Regions from separate parts of the Homo sapiens genome. Here region 2 is linked to region 1. Evidence: promoter capture Hi-C in 16 types of primary human blood cells and fetal thymus (Javierre and others, 2016). All regions are on one chromosome and are shown on one strand. Each heading gives the region's core, a stretch centred on a gene start or on the middle of the fragment in contact. The rest is flanking DNA. Distances are from core to core; before and after follow the strand shown. Region 1 has its middle 6.4 kb from the start of KLRF1. Region 2 holds the start of CLEC12B (C-type lectin domain family 12 member B).

The links. Contacts are between HindIII fragments. The CHiCAGO score rates a contact against its expected background, and 5 or more counts as called.
Region 2: the fragment with the promoter of CLEC12B here is called in contact with a fragment that was not itself captured in region 1 in 1 of 17 cell types (neutrophils); the score reaches 5.8 in neutrophils.

The regions. Positions count from the first base shown.
Region 1 is chr12:9,818,955-9,823,208 of GRCh38, reverse strand. It overlaps a transcript of KLRF1 not described here. Among named protein-coding and RNA genes, the nearest start is that of KLRF1, 6.4 kb to the left of the region's middle. The HindIII fragment of the contact is 763 bases long and covers 1,325-2,087 here.
Region 2 is chr12:10,008,815-10,013,068 of GRCh38, reverse strand. It overlaps CLEC12B (C-type lectin domain family 12 member B), which reads right to left and starts at 2,442. Exons shown (of 6, transcript NM_001129998.3): 1 at 2,219-2,442; 2 at 186-284. The coding sequence starts at 2,309. The HindIII fragment of the contact is 2,412 bases long and covers 808-3,219 here.

The DNA.
Region 1 (4,254 bases), core at 457-2,956:
GTTTTACATTCAATTGTGCGGTCAATTTTAGATTATGTGGCATGTGGCAATGAGAAGAATGTATATACTGGTTTTCTGGGTTCGGAGTACTGTAAAGGTCTATCAAATCCATTTGGTCCAATGTCAAGTTCAGGTTCTGAATATCTTTGTTAATTTGCTCCCTTGATGACCTGTCTGGAGTGTTAAAGTCTCCCACTATTATTTTGTAAATATTTAAGACTCTTTGTAGCTAAGAACTTGCTTTATGAATTTGGGTGCTCCTGTACTAGGTACATATATATTTGGGATAGTTAAGTCTTCTCGCTGAATTGAATTTATTATTATGTAATGTCCTTCTTTGTCTTTTTTCATCTTTATTGGTTTAAAGTCTGTTTTGTCTGAAATTAGGATTGCAAACCCTGTTTTTTTTTACTGATTTTCATTTGCTTGTTAGATTTTCCTCCATCCCTTTATTTCAAGCCTGTGTGTCATTGTGTGTGAGATGGTTCTACTGAAGATAGCATACCATTGAGCTTTGATTTTTTATCCAGCTTGCCACTCTGCACCTTTTAAATGGGGCAGCTAGTCTGTTTACATTCAAGGTTAGTATTCATATGTGTGGATTTGATCCTGTCATTGTATTGTTAGTTGGTTATTATGCCAGCTTGTATCTCCCCATCCCTTTCAGGGATGTCGATGATTTGTAGATTTGGCGCCTTTACATAATCCTATATTTCTCAAAGATTTTGTTCCTTCCTTTTCATTCTTTTTCCTTTGTTTTTGTCTGACTGTCTTATTTTAGAGGGCTAGTCTTCAAGTTCTTCAGCTTGGTCAATTCCACTGTCAATACTTGGAATTGTATTGTGAAATTCTTGTAATGTGTTTTCCAGCTCTAGCAGATCAGTTAGGTTCTTTTCTATAGTGGTTATTCTGTCTGTCAGCTTTTGTATTGTTTTAGTGTGATTCTTAGTTTTCTTGGATTGGGTTTTACCATTTTCCTGAATGCTGATGATCTTCATTTCTATCCATATTCGGAATTCTATTTCTGTCATTTCAGTCAGCTCTGCTGGTTTAAAACCCTTGTTGGATAACTAGCGCAGTCATTTGGAGGACATAAGAAACTCTGGCCATTTGAGTTGCTGGAGTTCTTGTGTTGCTTCTTTCTCTTCTCTGCATTTGAGTGTTTCTTTAGCCATGATGTAGATTGCATATAGTCAGTAGACTTCTTTTCTGGATGTATTCACAGGGTTGAGGCTTTGTGCAGGGTCTTTACTTGCAACTGACTTGTCTTTGGTCTCATAGTGGAGTGGGTGGTATGTTAGTGAAGTAGTTTGGTATTAAAGCTTTGGGATGTGATGCAGTAGGTTGTGCTTAGGCAGAGTGTTCAGTTGGTTGGCTCTTGATCAGTTGTGTGGCTCCCTTATATTTCTTCACAGTTGCAGCCATGCTGCCTCTCAATGCTCTGAAAGTTTGGGATCCTCTCCCACTTGAGTGTTGGCTGTAGATTATGGCTTGTCATTCCTGGGCTTTCCCCCACAGCTCTGGGGTGATCTCAGTGTTTATGTTTCCTCTCCAACTTGGAGGCAGCAGCAGAAGGGACCTTAGGAGTGGTTGTGGCTGAAGGTCTTTTATTTACCTCCTAGGGGCTCTACCCCAGAGAGGTGTGGGTCAGCAATTGCTCAGTGCAGTCTGCCCAGGATGGGGGTATCTGTGCTATGGGCCCAAACCAGGGTTTCTCTGCTTGGTGATGAGCAGGGGAAGTGTGCAGGACCTGTGGGAGATGAACTTTGCTCCTCTCCTTGGGTCGACTGTTGCTTGATGGGGGTATGGATAAGGTAGTTAGGGTCTTTGCTCCTTCATTAGTCTGAGGGTAGCAGGAGTAGTACCGCTGCAGAGGCAGTGGCAGATGGGCTTTTGGTTGCCCCTGGGGGTCTCATGTCTGAGGAATGCAGAGCTGCTGTTACTGGAAGTGTTCAGCCATGGGGGTGGGGCAGCTGCATTGCTGGCATGAGCTTGGTATTCCACTTTTTGGGGAGCAGAGGATTAAGAGTAATCAGGAGGAGAGAATGGTCTCCTCTCCCTATGGTGTCTGTGGCATGCTGTAAGCTTGAGTGTAGCCCTCAGGATCTTTGTTTCTTCCCCAGACTGAGGGTAGCAGGGATAGAACTGTTTCTATCCCTGTGGCAGAGGAGCTGTTGGATGCCTCTGGAAGCCTCTCCCCAGGGGAACTCTGAGCCACTACCAGTGGGTATGGTCAGCCATGTATGGGGCAACCATTCTGTGGTCATGAGCCAGGGGCCCTGCCTGGTGAAGAGTTAGGGGGTGTAAGTTCTCAGGGAAAAGGGGCTGGACTCTTTCTGTATGTTGACTGTGGTGTGCTGGAGGGGCCAGTGTGGTCACTAGGCCCTTTGTTCTTTCCCCAGCCCAACGGCCATTAGGCAGCACCGCTGCAACTGCAGTGGTGGAGGGGTTGTGGGTTGACTCTGTGATTTCCTCCTCAGAGAAATGCTGGGCTGCCTTTGATTGAAGTGGTAAGTTGGGGGCAGGGTGGTTGTGCTGCAGTACCATGTCCAGCGGCTGTGCCCAGGGAGGAGAAGTGAGGTCCAGCATGTGTGTGGAGAACAGTCCAGCCACTTATTCATGAGGTGGGTGCTCTGTGCTGAGGGCCAGATCAGCCCCTGGTCCCCACAGACTCTCCAGAGCCTGGAGACAGAGCGAGGGATGCAAGACGGCAAAGATGGCAACCTTCCCCTCCCACTGGGAACTCTGTCCAGGAAGTGGCAGAGCTGCTACTGGCTCGAGAGCCACAGCAGGGGGTGGCTGGAGGCCCAGGCTGAGAAGACCCGCCCAGCGAGGAGATACGGGATCAAGGTAACAGTCTGGTCATGTAACAATCTGGCCACCATTCTTGCAGGGCTGTTGCAGTATTCTGGGAGTCCACTCCAGTCCCTAGTTACCTCGGATTTTCCAGTACCTGAAGGTATCAACAGTGAAGGCTGTGAAACAGCAAAGATGGCAGCCTGCCTCTCCCACTGGGAGCTCCATCCCAGGGAGGTTCCAACATGTTGCTGGCCCAAACACACTGGTGAGGGTGGCTGGTGATCCCAGTTGGGTGGTCACACCCAGTGAGGAGAAACAGGATCAGTGACTGCTATAAAAAAGCACTCTGGCCACTTTCTTGTAAAGCAGCTGTGCTGTGTTGAGGGTCCAACCAGCCCCCTCATAACCTCAGACTCTCCAACGCCCAAAAGTGACAACAGTGAAGGCTGTGAAGCAGCACAAATGGCAGCCTGCCTTTCCCTCTGGGAGCTCCATCCTAGGGAGGTACAGACGTGTTGTCAACTGGAAAACACCCGGTGGTTGTAAATCTTGGTTTTGAGATTCCAGCCAGTAAAGAGAAACAGGGTCTGGGATTCACATGGAAAGGCAATCTGGCCACTTTTCTGTAGAGCTGCTGTGCTCTGCCAGGGGACCACTCCAGTCCCTAGTCGCCTCAGACTCCCTGAAGGCAACAATGGCTAAGGCTGTAAGACAGCAAGGATGGTGGGCTATCCTTGCCTCTGGAAACCCCATCCCAGAGGGGTACAGACCTGTTGCCAGCTCAAAAACACTTGTGGAGGTGGTTGTGGACCTCAGTGAGGAGATTTTGCTCAGTGAAGAGAAATGGGATCCAAGACCCACGTGAAAAAAACAGTCTGGCAGCCTCCCTGTAGAGCAGCTGTGCTATTTTGGGGGCTTCTCCAATCCTTAGTCACCTTGGATTTTGGCAACAATGGCTAAGGCTGCAAAACAGCAAAAATGATGTCCAGCCCCTCCTTCTGAGAGATTCATCTCAGGGGAGGTATAACCTTGCTACCAGTGGCTGGCTGGAGTTCCAAGCCAGAGGGTCTTATCCTGTGAGGTGCCATGGAAGCAGGGCCTGCGGACAATCCCTGCTCAGCCCCTTGGATTCAGCCCCTTTCCTAGGGATGTAGAGATGTCTAAATTCCCAGCCACTTTTGCTGGGAAGCCCTGGTATCTAAGGCTCCCAGGGCTCTGCGTGTGCCTGAGAGGCTACTCTTCCAGGACTCCCTGTAGCTCTGTGTGTCAGACTGCAGGCCTTTGTGGGATGGGTTCACAAGGGGATCTCCTGACCCAAGGGTTGCAAAGATCCATGGGAGAATTGTGCTCCCCCAGGTGCTCAGTCACTCACTGCTTCCCTGGGTGGGGAAGGCTCCCCTGGCTCCATGTTGCTCCCGGGTGGGCAGTCGTCCTGCCTTGCTTTACTTCATCCTC
Region 2 (4,254 bases), core at 1,193-3,692, 190 kb before region 1:
CCAAATCCTGATAATGTCTTTTGCCGGTTTTTTGGGAAGATATGACGAATAGGAGAGATATGAGACAGCAGAAAAGTATCAGACGATTCAGGATGCTAGGACCCATCTACAATCCAAGCTGAAAGTACATGGTTTACAATATGTTTTCTAGTTGCCTTTGTTGGGTTTGATGCTGATATACTTACACATCATCCCCAATGTCACCAGCCCAATCAGCAACATCAGGCAAAGAGTTACCAGACCCAGAGCAGCATGACGCCAAATGGGAGATGGAGCTGGATGCCCTGGAGAAAGCCAAAAGAGCAATCAGCACACAGAACTGCTTTGTGCTTGTTTCACTTTGGTTTGTTTATTTCTCCCACTTAGGGAGCTTCCCGATACTAACGTTTCTTTCTTGCTTCTTTAATGCCCTCATTTAGAAAATACCTAATATGAAGTGCAATGAGGGTGCCATCCTTGTTTCCCCTCCATTTCTCCACCGCTCTCCTTCACTTTAAGAGGAAGCTTCGTTGGGGGAGGGGGGAGGCATACCTTTAGGAGATATACCTAATGCTAAATGACGAGTTAATGGGTGCAGCACACCAGCATGGCACATGTATACATATGTAACTAACCTGCACATTGTGCACATGTACCCTAAAACTTAAAGTATAATAATAATAAAATAAAAAGGAAGCTTCTCCTAATTTCAAGGTTTTTGTTTTACATCATTGCCCACTTTTCTTCCTCAAGTTTATTGAATTCATAAATGAGAGATCTAAAAACTGCTTTTCTGGATGATGCTGACAGTAGGAGACACCTCAAGCTTTTGAGCTCAAAAGTCTCTATAAGGCACATGTTCTATCTGCCTTGTAAAAGTGGATTCGACTTTTTAAAGTATCTTTTACCTGTTAACAATAACTTATCTATTATTCATGCTATTTATCACCTAATAAATAATGAATGAATACTGAATGAAAGAAGGAAAGAATGTGCAGTCTAACCTACAAACAGCAGAATAGACCAGAAAGCCGTTAGCATCCTAGTCATTGTTGTTGTTTAAAATATCAATGGTTGTCATGTTTTCCTTAGCTTCATATCCCTTGATTTAGGTCCAAATAACATCTAGCGCAATGTTTTAGATACAGCATGACAGACTCTAGGTACACTGTGATATGCACCATATCCACACCTCCTTTTTCCTCACAGGTTAGAATTAGAATTAAAAAGTAAAACAAAACAAGGCAAAAATGTGTAACCACATTTATTAGACATATGCAAAGTCTATTCCCATCGGCTTTTTGTAAATATCCTTCCCTCAAATGTCATGCACCACACAAAATGTAAAGATAAATCTAGAGGGCAGGAGAAAGTAGTTCAGATGACTGACATGATTCAGGAGAACCTGGATAGTTAACATATCTGAAAATAAGAGATGTGGTCTTATATATTAAATCAGAGTCTTGACCATGGAGACTGCTATTTTTCCAATTAGGCATAAGAGAATGAGCTGAAGACCAGCACTGAGACTGGGCTTCCCCACATAGCAGTTGTGTGAGCTTGCTTAAATTATCTAATTTCTCTCACCCTCAGTTTTTTCATCTATGTAATGGAGAAAATACTAATATTCGAATATTATTGTGGATTTTCATTACAATTATATCTGTATATAATGTACATAAAATACTACCCAGATACTATTATTACTGGTTCAACATTACAAATTATGCTCGGATTTCAACTACCCTAAAATTTGAAAAAATACTGACAAAAGAAAAATTAGCTCTGATCTATTTCTAATCCACTCACTCATCTTCCAGTTTTCTCTTAAGTAACTTACATCATCTAAAAGAAAAACGTCCTCTACCTTCTCTATTTTAGAAGCCTCCAATCTGGTTTCTGAAAGAATATCCTCCTGGCATCTCTAACAAGGTATAAATATCAAGGATTATATTCATAAGAAGAAATCTCTAATTCCCCAAGCTCAATTTCTGGCATGTGCAGTCAGAATTTCTCTGACTGTGTGATATCACACAACTTTAAAGAGGTTCTGAAAGCCACATATTTTCACTTCAACCTTGGGAACACTCACTTTTCTAATACATTCCACAACTATTTGTCCCCATTTTGGAGATTTCACAGCACATGTCTTTAACGCCAGTATTAAAGCTGGCACCTCAAAGCATTTAACACCTGTCCACTCCCCCAAGGACACAGCTGGTCTTCTCTGAACTCCTACCTCTTTTTCTTAGGTTATTTCCATCTCGGTTATTCCTTGCTCCAGCAGAATCCTGAAATGTGAGTGTCGCGTAGGTCACTTCTTCAGACATTGTAGAAGAAAACGCTACTTTAAATTATCTAATTAATGTTTCAATATCTTGAGGCCTGGGAACAGCATGTGTTTTTCAAGGCTGGGAGCTTTGATGTAGTCACTCAGCTGACCCAGACACACTCTACTGCCCCTCTGTAAGAGAAGAATGACAATTTGTTTCTCTACAGAGAAAGTGAGAAAAGCCAAATATTCTCCTTAGAGATATTCTCATTAGAATGTTACAGATCTCAAACTGTCTGCTCTGTCAGAACTGTTTCTTGCTGTGCAGCAAAGAAGGGGTGCTTGAGGCAGAGCAGGAGGAACATGAGGGAATTCCCATGATCCTCGGGGTAGAGGATGCTCTGAATGTTTCAGAAAAGAGTCAGGTTGTCTTCTTTACATCTATCTAAGGCTAGCTAATCTGCCTGGAGACATTGGTTCTAGTTTATTCTCAGCCACATTAGATATTAAGCAGAGAGACACACATTAAGACAGAAAGAGCTGTGCCACACACCTGGCTGCTATTATAGAAAATTCAAGCGTGTGTGTGTGTGTGTGTGTGTGTGTGTGTGTGTGTGAGAGAGAGACAGAGAGAGACAGAGAGAGAGAGACAGAGAGAGAGAGACATGGTGTTGGTAATGGAGCATGGAGAAGAAACTGATAGCTACTTAGCTACTTAACGTGAGTATGAATGGGAGTGCCCTCTTCTGGCATGGTTGGGAAAGTTCCTAACAGAACAACAACCATGGGATAATCCTGCAGACAGCAAGGAATACACAGGACAAGATTTTAAAAAGATAACTACCGGAAGTTAATACATCTGTGGTAATTTGTTACAGCAGCAATATGTAGTTAATACAGAACCCAGGAAAATATGGGGGGGGAGCGCTATATATGAGGGACGAAATTAAGGAATCTCCTCTAAAGCTTTCCTTTGGGGAGAGGCAGAATATTAGATAACTGTACTTAGGGGAAGGATTGGGTATGAGTTTTGTGGTTTCAGATGAGTGGGGAGTGATCTAAAACTTCCAAGGTTCATATCTGTGTGGAGATTATCTTAGTCAAAGGTGTCCAGCGTGAGGTGCACTCACCCCACAGCTGTGAAGCAGATGCAGAAAGGCAATGTAAAAACTTTCTCTTTAGGAACGCTGTGCATGATCTCTAAACACCTAAATATACATATGTTACTTGTTCATGTTTTTTGTTTTTTTTTTTTTCAAATTGATGAAATAATCAAAAAAATGTTTGGAGGCTCTAAGTCATATATCAATAAAACTCCACTATCAAAAATATTGAAACAAATAATAAATCTATGCTTATGTTTACTATTCTAGTTGAATTCAGAAAAGGCAGAGACCATTGACATGAGGACCAGTTTAAATAGATGATTACAAAAATAAGAAATTAAGAATGGTTTTCTATCTCTGTTCTGGTCCGTGTCCGGAGTTGGTTCCTGCCGGTGGGTTCCTGGTCTCGCTGACTTCAAAAATGAAGCCGCGGACCTTTGCGGTGAGGGTTACACCTCTTAAAGATGGCACGGACCCAAAGACTGAGTGGTAGCAAGGTTTATTGTGAAGAGCAGGATGACAAACCTTCCACAGCATGGAAGGGGTCCCAAGCGGGTTGCTGCTGCTGGCTGGGGTGGCTAGCTTTTATTTCCTTACTGTCCCCTCCATGTTCCGTTTCTGTCGTATCAGACTGACCTTTTTTCAATCCTCACCGCAATTGGCTACTTTTAGAATCCTGCTGATTGGTGCGTTTTACAGAGCGCTGATCGGTGCGTTTTACGTGGCACTGATTGGTGCGTTTTACAATCCTCTTGTAAGACAGGAAAGTTCCCTGAGTCCCCACTCGATTCAGGAAGTCTGGCTGGCCTCACGTCTCATGACTTTCACCAGATTTTGCAAAAACTGGGTTTTCATCCTCATTTCCTTAATTCTTTCACATACCTTAAAGCTTCCTAA